Linked DNA regions of Homo sapiens: all the other regions are linked to region 1. Evidence: promoter capture Hi-C in 16 types of primary human blood cells and fetal thymus (Javierre and others, 2016). All regions are on one chromosome and are shown on one strand. Each heading gives the region's core, a stretch centred on a gene start or on the middle of the fragment in contact. The rest is flanking DNA. Distances are from core to core; before and after follow the strand shown. Region 1 holds the start of ZNF684 (zinc finger protein 684). Region 2 overlaps NFYC (nuclear transcription factor Y subunit gamma). Region 3 has its middle 4.4 kb from the start of RIMS3.

Region 1 (4,096 bases), core at 39-2,538:
AAGGATGTTATATGTTTCTGTCCTACTGATCTAGCACCAAGTGGTTCCTCTTGAAACAGTTATTTTTTTTCCTCCCAGAAATTTATCCTGAAGAAATAATGAATGAGTTGACTCACTTAAAAGCTTGGTCTCTGAAGCTCCGTAAGTCTAAAAATGATTCCTTCCTGTGATTCTCTGGTTTCTACTCTGACGCTGGGATAAGAGATTGCAAATTAGGTTGGGCTTTCTTGAGAAGGCTGGATTCAGGGACCCAGGAACACTTTTTTTTATTTTTTTTTTGTTAAGCTGGATCCTTCAGTTTAAACTCCAAATGTTTCTCTCTGTAGAAACTCGCCATCTCCTATGAGCTTAGAACTGCTGGGGCTCTAGAAAGGGTATAATGGGCAAACCGGGGACTCACATCTTCATTTACACAGTCTGCACTGGAAGATCTGCAGATACACCAAGAGACTCTACAAAATGACTACAAATCGAAATTTACTCAGCATTCATTGCTCAAACATTTCAGGAGAATAAACCCAACTCTGTTTTATGCAGGAATGCTATACTGTAAAAAAAAAAAAAAAGAAATTTGGAGAAAATGTATCTGAGTTTGAATCTCAGTTCTTCCACTTACTAAGCTGTGTGAGTCCAGGCAAGTAATTTCACCTTTCAGCTTCAGTTAACTCATATGCAAAATGGTAATAGCATTTACTTCAAATGATTGCTGAGAATACCCTTCTAATCCATAGCAGTTTCTCAAGAATGCTTTCTTCCTGGATCCCTTGAAATAGCTTACAGTTTCCACTGGATCCCTTGACACGGCTTAAAATTGTCGCAGGCTCCAGTCGGGCCAACTATGCTCTTGGAACCAGGAAAGGTACAGTTAGATGAACAGACTCCTACATAGTGACCTTGACCTACAAGAGCAGGAATGCAAATTGAGCCTCTCCCAGTCCCACCAGAGCCCTGGACATCTACCCAGTGCCAGTCGGAGCCCAACTCTTGCTTTCTCTCAGCTACTCGAGTTGAACAGGACCCACATATCCAAACCTGAAGTCACTGCGCTTGGAGACTAAAGTTTTATCTTCGGTAGGGTAAACCTAGAAGCCAGTCCCCGCCTTTCTCTTACGTCCTCCGAGTCCAGCAAAGCCATACCTGCCACCCTTTCACTGCCTCGCTCGCAGCTCCGGCTCCAAGCCTGGGATCAGTCACAGCGTCGTCCAGAGACAGGGGAGCAACACCCGCCCGCACTTCCCGCGGCGCTGATTTGAAGATTGAATACCGGCTACCGTCCTACTACGCGTGTGCGGAAGTAACTGTCCACCTAGAGTTCCTGGACTCCTCCCGGGTGTAGGCCATCCGTCGGAGACCACATTTCCCATAAGGCCAGTGGAGCTCGTTTCCGGAAGACGTCAGACGCTGCTTCCTCTTGGGGGGTGGTGCGGAGATTCCCGGGTTGGTATCTCTATTGCTAGCCTGAGAGCCACGCTTTTTAAGTCGTTTTCATTTAAAAGGATACACAGCATTTTTAAATACTGGAAAGTAAAATCGGCGGTATGCTAAAAACAATTTGCTCTTACTCAGCAGGGTTTCTTCTAGCAATGCACCAGGTTAAGTCGGAGAGGTGAAGAGGATCCAACAAAGAAGACTGAGAAGGAATAATCCATGAAGTAGATGGAAAAGTAGGAGAGTTTAGATCTGCAAAACCAAGGGAAGGAAGTGTTTCAAGAAGGGAGTGACCCATTGTCTCAAATGTTGCTCATAGGTCAAGTAAAATGAGAATTAAGAATGGGCCACTGTAGCAATGGTCACCAGTGATGTTGAAACGCCATTTTGGCAGTGGTGGAAGTTTGATAAAGTCTGATGAAAATTTGATAGGAGTTGGAGGGAAGGATGGGAGGAGAGGAAATGGAGAAAGCAAATATACGCAATACTTTTAAGAAGTTTTGTTTTTAAGGTGAGCAGAAAAATAAGGCTATCATGGGATAGGGATTTTGTTAATCTTTTGTTGTTGCGTTTTTCCACGTTCTAATTTTTTTTTTTTTTTTAATTCAAAGATGGGGCTGAGTGTGGTGGCTTATGCCTGTAATCCTAACATTTCAGGAGGCCAAAGTGGGAGGATTGGTTGAGCCCAGGAGTCTGAAACTGCCTAGGCAACATAGTGAGACCCTCATCTCTACAAAAAATAAAAAACTAGCCTGGCATGGCACCCGCCTGAAGTCCCAACTACTTGAGAGGCTGAGATGGGAGGATCGCTTGAGCCCAGACAGTAGAGACTGCAGTGAGCCGTGATCCCGCCACTGCACTGCAGCATGGGCGACAGAGCTAGTCTCTGTCTCAAAAAAATAAAATAAAAAAGATGGAAGAAATTATAGTAAGTTTATGTACTAATTAAAAGGATCTAGGCTGGGCGCAGTGGCTCACGCCTGTAATCCCAGCACTTTGGGAAGCTTAGGTGGGCAGATCACCTGAGGTCAGGAGTTGGAGACCAGCCTGGCCAACGTGGTGAAACCCCGTCTCTACTAAAAATACAAAAATTAGCCGGGCGTGGTGGCAGACGCCTGTAAACCCAGCTACCTGGGAGGCTGAGGCGGGAGAATCACTTGAACCCGGGAGGCAGAGGTTGCAGTGAGCCGAGATCACACCACTGCACTCCAGCCTGGGCGACAGAGCGAGGCTCTGTCTCAAATAAATGAATTAGTTAATAAAATAAAACAAAAGATCCAGTAGAGGCGGGAAATACACAATTCAGGATAGACAGGCTAGTTACTCGGAGGAATGTCCTTGAGAAGAGAAGGGATGGAATCCAGTACACAATCACAGGGATCATTCTAAGTAAGAGTATGGATAATTCATCTCCATTGAAATAAAAGGGGAGGCAGAGTTTATAAGTACAGATCCAAACAGGTGGACAAATATGGTGGTAGGAGAAAGAGGATGCCCTGTTCTGAGTGCTTCTATTTTCCCAGTGAAATAGGAAGCTGAAATGAAGATAGGGGGAAAGTATTTTAGACTTGACAGAAAAGATGAATACCGTATTATGATGATTTTGAAACATGATTTTTTCATATTTTAACATCTGTGAAATTGCTGTCTTACAAGTGATGGCATTCCATAGTTTAATCAGGAGCATTGTTTTTTATTAGTATATAAAATAATAATACAACTTATAATCAATGGCATCTGAGATTCGATAAAGTATGATTTATGAATGTGAGCAAGTGAATAGATTAAGGAAATGTAGTACTATTGCCTGGCACCATTAAGAACTGGCTTGATATTAGTAGCCATTATCGCTTCTCAGCCTTTTGGCTAAGATCAAGTGATATTAGTACCCACTGACTTTACTAGCATTTTCTATGCAATAAACACATCTCTCTCTCTCTGCCTCCCCTCCCGTCCCCTCCCCTCCCCTCTCCTCTCCTCTCTCTCAACAGAAAGGACATATATTAAAGACATGGGTAGTAGAATAAATTCATTACATCTTAATATCTAAAGTATTTTGGACCAAATTACTTATGTATTTTTATTAGAAACAGTATGTATTTTGTGCAACCCAAAAATTAGGCATTTAATTTTACAAAACATTTCATTATGGTAATTTTAAACTATGCAATAGTAGAAAGAATAGTGGTGAACTTCCATGTATCCATCCCCCAACTCCAATAATTATCAACTCAGGGCCAATTCTGTTTCATCTCTACCCCCAACCCCATTGCATAGTATTTTGAAGCAAATCCCAGAGCATATAATTTCACCAATAAAAATAAAGACTTAAAAAACCATATTATTATCACATCTAAAATATTAACAATATTTCCTTAACATCATCAAACATTGAGTCATTGTTCAAATTATCAATTTTCTCATAATTGCAATTTCTTTTAGAGTTTTTAAAAAATTAAGTACAAACGTTGGGCACAGTGGCTCATGCCTGTAACCACATCACTTTGGGAGGCTGAAGAAGAGGGAGGATTGCTTGAGGCCAAGAGTTTGAGGCTGCAGTCAGCTATGATCATACCACAACTTTAGAGGTTGTAAAAAAGGGACACTCTAATTCTATCATTCCTTTGTCATTTAGCAGCTGGATTATTCCTATAAAGAGGAACTTCAT
Region 2 (4,096 bases), core at 984-3,483, 240 kb before region 1:
TTTAGTTCCCACTAAGTCTATAAAACTAAAGGATAGGTGCCCTGATTTAAATACCGTACTTGTTTTAACAATTTCTGTCCACTCACTGTTAGTAGAGGACAGGACAGTTGCCCTAACCATCCAAACCCAGATACTACCTGCTACCCTGCCCCGCAAATCCTCACCCTCTGCCCAGCCCAGGTTGGGTACCCTACCTGTCCATCTGTGAACTGGCTGAACTGCTGCTGTCCTTGCTGGACCTCTGTCTGTGTAATCTGTAAGAATCAAGATGGTAGAGTTGGTATGTCAGCTGCAGGGTCTGATCCACCAGCCCACCACCCAAAAGAGGGTCATAAAGATCAAATGAGACAATGCATATAAAGTGCCCAGCAGGTGCTCAATGGGTAGTAAGCAAGCAAGCACCCCTCCTAATCTAGCACTGATGGCTACGTCAAGAGTTGGCAGCACAAAGTGACATCGAGAATCCTGGAGCACATAATAGATAGTTCCCACACCCATCTCTCTAATGAATGCCTACTCCCTCAACCACCCACTCATCTCAAACTCTGAGGCTCAAACAGAACACATGGACCCTAGGTGCTATGGTTTGGGGTAGAAGTCCTAAGAGTCAGTCTTTCAGCCAGTGAAGGCGGACTGCAAAGTGTCAGACAAAGTGGTAAGTGGCCTCTTTCATTCTTGGAAGGTGGGCTCCAAACCAAACCCGTATCACCCAGATCATCTGACTGGAATATGAAACACCCTGGCGAGCAAGTGGCCTTGGTCCCAGCAGTCCTCATGGCAAACCTATGAAGTACTTTTTCCGAGAGAGGCACTGTGCAGCCCTCTGGGCCAAAGGAGGGGAGGAGAAAAGGGGAGGGACCGGGAGTGGAACAAAGACAACATTTATCACAAGTACTTAAAATCTTATGTGTGGACTGTGAATGGATTTTAGATAAATGTACTGACATGTAGAACTGCATATATAATGACAACTGCTGGGAGCAGCTCGGTAAACTAGAAAGAAGACTGCGGTGTGCATGCACATGTGTTCCTATGGAACATTTGGCCAGCAGTGTCCTCTGTGTACCATTTCCTGGAATCATCACAGCCAGCCTGCAAGACAAGGACTGTCCTCTCAAATGTCCTCACCATGGCCAAAAACAACCCCTGCAGGCCTACCCATGAGGCTATGAGGAACAAGAAAGGGAACAGGTATGACAGGCTTCATGACTATTTTTTACTATTGTTCCTTATTTTGGTCCTTTTCCTTCCAACAGCCTATAAGATGCCTGAGGGCAGGAGCCCATACAAAGTTAGTATTCCAGAAATGTTGCAGAATAAACAAGTGAGCCTGAGACAAATGGAAAATATTCCACATAGATAAGAAGGTTAACTGCTCTGTGGCCAGCAGGATTGCCATTCATATTAGCTGAGATTTCATTTACCTTTACATTTTATTTACATATTATTCATTCAGCTTCATTCAACAAACATTTACTGAGCACCTACTAAGTATTAGGTTGTCATAATTACAACCTGTTGTTACAAAGATTTTCATTGCCTTCAGCTACCACTTTCTTGCTTCTCCCCAGCCTCTCCCATTTTTTGGCTTTAGTTCTGTTCCCAAAACGGACTTTTTTTAATTTTTATTTTTTGAGACAGAGTCTCACTCTGTCGCCCAGGCTGGAGTGCAGTGGCACAATCTCAGCTCACTGCAACCTCCACCTCCTGGGTTCAAGTGATTCTTGTGTCTCAGCCTCCCAAGTAGCTGGGATGACAGGCATGCACCACCACGCCCAGCTAATTTTGTATTTTTAGTGGAAACGGTTTTGCCATGTTGGCCAGGCTGGTCTCAAACTCCCGACCTCATGTGATCACCTGCCTCAGCCTCCCTCCCAAAGTGCTGGGATTACAGGCGTGACCCACTGTGCCCAGCCCCAAACTGACTTCTGAGGAACCAAGAAGCTTCCTTCTCATTTCCTCCCACTCCCATGCCGTTATGTTTTTTGGATCCCAGGGAAGAATCTTATGAGGTTAAAAAGAGGGGCTGGGGGAAGGGTGTGAGTCAGTATCAGCTACGGAAAAGCCGCGTCCTTAGGTAAGCCGGGGAGTGGGCACAGAAACAGCCCTTAATGATCCCAGAGACTATATGGAACTCAGAAGCCTTGCTTTTGGCTCATTCCTCGTATTTTCCCAAATGAGATCTTTGGAGACCTGCTCTACAAACTCAGCTCTGTCACCACTGTCAATAGATACATCACCAGAAATGCAACTGGGCCAGACGGGTCCAGCTCTTAAACGATCGCTGCTTTTTTTGGGTCTGAGGCAAAAGAATCCATTAACAATGCCTCCCCTTGACCAGCACCCCCCATCTTCTGCAAGTAATACCCATGTCCCTCAACACCCCCAAGCCCAGGGAGGCAGCCCCCTCACCATCTGTGACTCATAGCCATCAATATTGTAGGGCACGAGAGGAGAGGAGAAGGGCAATTTTTCTGGTTAGGGATGCAAGAGGAGGTAGGGGTAAAATCTAAGTAAGCTTTCCAAAGAGCACAGGAGGTGCCAGAACACAACAGCCACTTGGGTTTAAAGATGGAAACAGCCTGACGATCAGGCGATCTGTCGAACATTTCCCAGGTCTGATGGGTGTGCACACCTGTAAGGTTTCTTTCAGGCACCTTCGAGGCTTCCCCTGACTTGCATTTCTTTGCCCCTTGAGAACAAGATGGTAAGAGAAAACACTTTGAATCTAATGTTCCAATTACCACCCATGCCTCTTGGGTGCAGAAGGATATGGAGGGTGTGGGGGTGGTGCTTCTGGTTGAAGGATGAGGTGGCAAGACAGCTGTGTGCTGAGCGCTCCTTTCCTGTCAGAAGCCATCTGCTCCTGGTCTCCAACACAGGCCTTGTGTCTCTGGGGCACATACCTGTTGAGCATTGGTGGCAAGTGTCTGGATCTGTCCCTGCACAACTTGAGTGCCTGATACAGGCTGGGCTAAGCGGATATACTGCAGCTGGCCGGCATTCAGCTGCACCTAGGGCAGGGGCAGAGACAAAGAGACCATAAGACATTGAGTATAATCTCAAACAGGCAAACTTTCCATGACCAGAGATGTTGATTGCCCCCTACCCCTCAAGCCCTCCAAAGAAGCCTGCCCTGAAAAAAGTCCCTTTTAAACAGAGGTCAAAACAAGCAAAATCAGAACATCCACATCCCACAAGTCACACAGCACAGAAGAGAATATATTCCCTGAATGGACTTCAGAAAAAACTCCCAGAAGATCCTGTCACAAAGGTGAGAACAGCATGGCTGCATGCTCATTATTTGCCAGCTCTTAGCTACATGATCACAGCTTATCTTAGGAATTTATCTGACTGACATCATCAGAATGCCTGTACATTAAGTGTGGGCCTCTTTCGCTCCCATCTGTAAAGAGATCCAGCATCTGCCAGGATCCCAAAGCAAACAGCCATCATTCCGCATCATAGCCCTCACACTGCCCTGCCCCATGCTGCACATTTTGGAGGCAAAAGCTGGACTGCTTAACCATCTCTGTCCCCAAGAGCCAGGCTGGATGGGGGTCTGTGGGGCTTTTAGGATCTTTGGTGTTCAGCACTAGCTTCTGGCCAAACACCTCCCAAGGGGAAGCAGAATCAATAAACCTTTCATAGAAAACCCCATCATGGGAAACCAAAGCTACGAAAGCGCCCTTAGAGTCTCTCATGCTTACGATTAAATCTCAGATAATACAATAATACCACATGCTGCATTTAATTGTGTGCTAAAAGCCTTAACTCAGGCTCTTAATGCTCCAGTGTACCATGAAAGTATTAGTGTTTTGAGCTGGGGATGAAAAGAGGACCAAGGCGGTTACCACATCAGAGAACTGTAGCTCAGCAAAGATGATGGTCAGCAGAGGAGGACTGCAGACATTCACACCCTCAATTTAGAGGAAATGAAAGGGGTTCTGGGAGCATGGATAGACTAGGTCTCTATCTGCGGGGTCCAGAAACCACCTGCCCTGGCTGCCCAGCCTGCCTTTGTTGCAAGGGGAAGCTTCTTGTGGCTAACAGGCAAGTATTGCCTCTGCTCTGGAGCAAATTTCCCTCTGGCCTT
Region 3 (4,096 bases), core at 806-3,305, 140 kb before region 1:
CCAACTGTATTAGTCTGTTCTTGCATTGCTATAAGGAAATACCTGAGACTGGGTAATTTATAAAGAAAAGGGAGGCTGGGCACGGTGGCTCATGCCTGTAATCTCAGCACTTTGGGAGGCTGAGGTGGGCAGATCACTTGAGATCAGGAGTTCGAGACCAGCCTGGGCAACATGGTAAAACCCTGTCTCTACCAAAAATAATTAGCTGGGCATGGTGGTACATGCCTGTAGTCACAGCTACTTGGGAGACTGAGGTAGGAGAATCCCTTGAACCTGGGAGGTGGAGGTTGCAGTGAGCTGAGATCACGCCACTGCACTCCAGCCTAAGCCTAGGTGACAGAGTGAGACTCCATCAAAAAAAAAAAAAAAAAAAGAAAAGAAAGGAAAGGGGTTTAATTGGCTCAGAGTTCCACAGGCTGTACAGGAAGCATGATACTAGCATCTGCTTGCCTTCTGGGGAAGCCTCAGGAAGCTTCCAATCATGGCTGAAGGCAAAGGGGGAGCCAGCGCGTCTTACATGGCAGGAGCAGGAGCAAGACAGAGTGGTCGGGTGGTGCCACACACTTTTAAACAACTGGATCTCATGAGAACTCACTCACTATAATGAGAAGAGCACCAAGGGGATGGTGCTAAACCATTCATGAGAAACCACCCCTAGTATAATCATCTCCCACCAGGCCCCACCTCCAACACTGGGGATTACAAATTTGACATGAGATTTAGGTGGGAACACAGATCCAAACCATATCACCAACAATCTTAGTTTTGTATCTCCAGCCACAGTTTCTCTTCTGAACTCCACAGTGAATCAGCTGCCTATGCAGCCCTCATCTGGGATGTCCCACAGTGTGTGCATCTAAACACATCCAGAATCAGCATCCCCCCCAAGGCCTAGGCATCATTCAGGCTTCCCTGTCTTGGTGAAGAACATCACCACCCAACCAGTTGTAGGGACCACCTACCTCCTACAGCCTCCCACTACCAATAAAACAGCAAGTCCAGCAGTGTCTACTACCTAAACCACAAAATCTCTCCAATTTCCCTCTGCCTCCCTAGCCCAAATCCCCATAGCTCTCAATGGACCCCTGCAAAAGTCTCATTAGTTTCCCCAAATCTGCTCTTTCTTTGTACTAATCCATGCTCCTCATTGCAGCTGGAGTGACATTTAAAAAATGCTACTTTCTCCTTTAACTCCTTTGCTGAAAGATTTCCAATATCTCTCCACTTAAAAAAATATATATTATTAAGTTATTGGCCAGGCGCAGTGGCTCACTCCTGTAATCCCAGCACTTTGGGAGGCTGAGGTGGGTGGATCAGGATTCAAGACTAGCCTGGCCAATATGGTGAAACCCCATCTCTACAAAAAACACAAAAATTAGCCAGGCGTAGTGGCACATGCCTGTAATCCCAGCTACCCAGGAGGCTGAGGCAGAAGAATTGCTTCAACCTGGGAGGCGGAGATTGCAGTGAGCAGAGATCACGCCACTGCCTCCTGGGTAACAGAGTGAGACTCCATCTCAAATATATATATATATATATATATATATATATATATAAAATTATAACTAACACTTATGGAAAATTTATATCCTAAGGTCTGTTCTAAGAACTTTACACATATTAACTCATTTAATCCTCATAACTCTAAATATTCCCATTATACAGACAAGGAAACAGAAACTCAGAGAAGCAACTTCAGGGCCTTTGTGTAAGCTCTTACCCATCCTTGGCTTGTTGATCTGGCTGACTGCTATTCAAGCTTCAGATGGGATGCCTTGGGGAGCATTCAAAGATCTCCCTGTCTAGGCCAGTCCCTCCCATAGCATCTAACCCAGTTTTTATTATACAATTATTTAGGGGGTGATTTGGTTCATGTCTGTCACCCCCATAGGCTTTAAATTCCATGTTTTGCTCATAATTATATCTTGAATATTCAACATATAATAAATACTTGATATTTGTTGAATGAATCAATGAAAAGCATTTTCAGTAAGAGAGGGGATGTGGTCAGATTTGTTTTAGAAGGATTTCTCTTGTGTAAAAGTTTGAAGGTGGTGAGACCAAGTCACCAACAGCAGCTGAATTCAGGAGTGACAGGAAGGCAGGCTGGACTAGAGGAGAGGCAAGAGGGATGGAGAGAAGTGGGTGAACCTAGGAAGTATTTAGGAAGCAAACTGGATGGCTCTGATAATTAAGTGGATAGAAGTGAGGAAGAGGAAGGAATCAGGAGGGACTCCCAAGTTTCTGAGAGCACCTTGAACTGGGGTGAGAAAGCATCTGCAAAGGAGGCAGGTTGGGTTGGCAGAGCAGGCTGTCCCTAGACCCAAGCAACTGAAACATGGAAAAGCTTTCAAAAAAATCTTTGCACCCAAACTCCTTAGCTTGGTCCTGGTGTACTTTATTCAGCCCCATCTGTGGTCTACCCCCAAACTCAGAGCATATAGATCACTGCTCCTCCCCCAAGCCCCACTTGTCATCCAGCCCACCTTAGTAAGTGCCACCCCACTACTCTCTCTCCACAAGATGCAGCTTGGAGGACGTCTCCTCTGGGATCCCTCCCCACTGCCCCCACCGCTTCCTGGGGTGAATGAGTCCTCTGTAGCCATCAGGATTCGCTGTATCAGGAGTGTTCCTCTGCTGTCACCTCTGATGACTATTTTCCTCAATTCAGAATCCCCAGCACCTGCAAAAGGCCTGGATAAAGGTAAACCTCAAAAAAGTTTGTTTTATTGAATTTTCCCAAAGGTTTGGCTTTATTACATTAAGAGCTGAGGCCAGGAATGTGGCAGTAAATTCTGGTGCCACCACTTAGAAAGACAAGTCACTTTTTTCAAGCCTCAGTTTCCGTCCATCAAATGGAGATAAGAATACAGTGCACCTACCTCGAAGAGCTGTTTTGAGGGGAAAATGAAATATGCTAGGTTAAGTGTTTAACACAATGCCTGGAACATGGTTAGTTCCCTCAAAAAATTAGCTGTTATTTATTTATTTTTAAATTCTCGCCTTGATGCTCAGAAGGGGCTGAGCAGGAACAGAGGATTGCAGTTCTTAGGATGGCCACGCGAGGGAAGTGGTGAGCAGCCTCCAGGAGGACTTCGGCTCGGCTGTGCCAAGGCACCTGCTGAGGACCCAGATGGCCCGCCTGGGGTTTCCGGGACTTCCCGGCCCCTAAACATGTGGGCGCTGGCCAGAGCGCCGCAGGAGAAGCCTCTGCCAGGTGCTCGGTCTCGACTCTCACAGCCCCAGCCATCCCTCCTGCTCGTCCCCGTCTCGGCTTGGAGGGGCTGGCGGGCAGGAGGGGACAGGGTAGGGGGCAACCAGGATATATCCCCTCCGTTTTGTCATTTGTCTTTCAAACTGACTTATGGCCATTTCTTCTGTATAGAAGCCTTGTAGTCAAACATTTCCATGTTTTCTCTTATGGCTTCTAGGTTTCATCATGCTTAGAAAGTCTTTTCCATCTCCAAGATTATTAAAATATTCACTCATGTCTTTTTTCTGATACATTATGGTGTTAAATATGTGGTCCACCTGGAATTTATTTCAGTGTCGAATAAGGGCACAGCTTTTTGTAATTTCCCCAAAAGACTTGCTGGTTATTCCACCCATTTGATCTCCGCCACCAACCCCCCCCCCCCCGCCCACAACCCCCTACCAACTCCGCCCCCCATTTGTCTGAAGTGCTGTCTTTTATTCATTCATTCATTTAGAGACAAGGTCTTGCTCTGTTGCCCAGGCTGGAGTGCAGTGGCGTGATCACAGCTCACTGCAGCCTTGACCTCCCAGGCTCAGGTAATCCTCCCACTTCAGCCTCCCTGGTAGCTGGGACTACAGGTGTGTGCAATCATGCCCAGATAAATTTTTTTTTTTTTTTTTTTTTTGAGACAGAGTCTTGCTCTGTTACCAGGCTGGAGTGCAGTGGTGCGATCTCAGTTCACTGCAACCTCCGCCTCCTGGGTTCAAGCGATTCTCCTGCCTCAGTCTCCCAAGTAGTTGGGACTACAGGTGCATGCCACCACACCCAGCTAATTTTTGTATTTTTAGTTGAGACAGGGTTTCACCATGTTGGCTAGGATGGTCTCAATCTCTTGATCTT

What was found. The method cuts DNA at HindIII sites, captures the fragments that hold promoters and counts their contacts. A CHiCAGO score of 5 or more calls a contact.
Region 2: a contact is called between a fragment that was not itself captured here and the fragment with the promoter of ZNF684 in region 1, in 1 of 17 cell types (megakaryocytes). The highest score is 5.0, in megakaryocytes.
Region 3: a fragment that was not itself captured here is called in contact with the fragment with the promoter of ZNF684 in region 1 in 2 of 17 cell types (endothelial precursors and M2 macrophages); the score reaches 5.1 in endothelial precursors.

The regions. Positions count from the first base shown.
Region 1 is chr1:40,528,829-40,532,924 of GRCh38, reverse strand. ZNF684 (zinc finger protein 684) reads right to left here and starts at 1,288. Exons shown (of 5, transcript NM_152373.4): 1 at 1,138-1,288. It overlaps LOC124904149 (a long non-coding RNA gene), which reads left to right and starts at 1,379. Exons shown (of 2, transcript XR_007066022.1): 1 at 1,379-1,437; 2 at 1,570-2,347. RefSeq lists an enhancer at 1,194-1,488. The HindIII fragment of the contact is 2,309 bases long and covers 126-2,434 here.
Region 2 is chr1:40,765,514-40,769,609 of GRCh38, reverse strand. It overlaps NFYC (nuclear transcription factor Y subunit gamma), which reads right to left. Exons shown (of 10, transcript NM_014223.5): 8 at 2,907-3,014; 9 at 195-254. Among named protein-coding and RNA genes, the nearest start is that of MIR30C1, 10 kb to the right of the region's middle. The HindIII fragment of the contact is 574 bases long and covers 1,947-2,520 here.
Region 3 is chr1:40,668,035-40,672,130 of GRCh38, reverse strand. It overlaps a transcript of RIMS3 not described here. Among named protein-coding and RNA genes, the nearest start is that of RIMS3, 4.4 kb to the right of the region's middle. RefSeq lists enhancers at 2,961-3,010, 3,071-3,220. The HindIII fragment of the contact is 588 bases long and covers 1,762-2,349 here.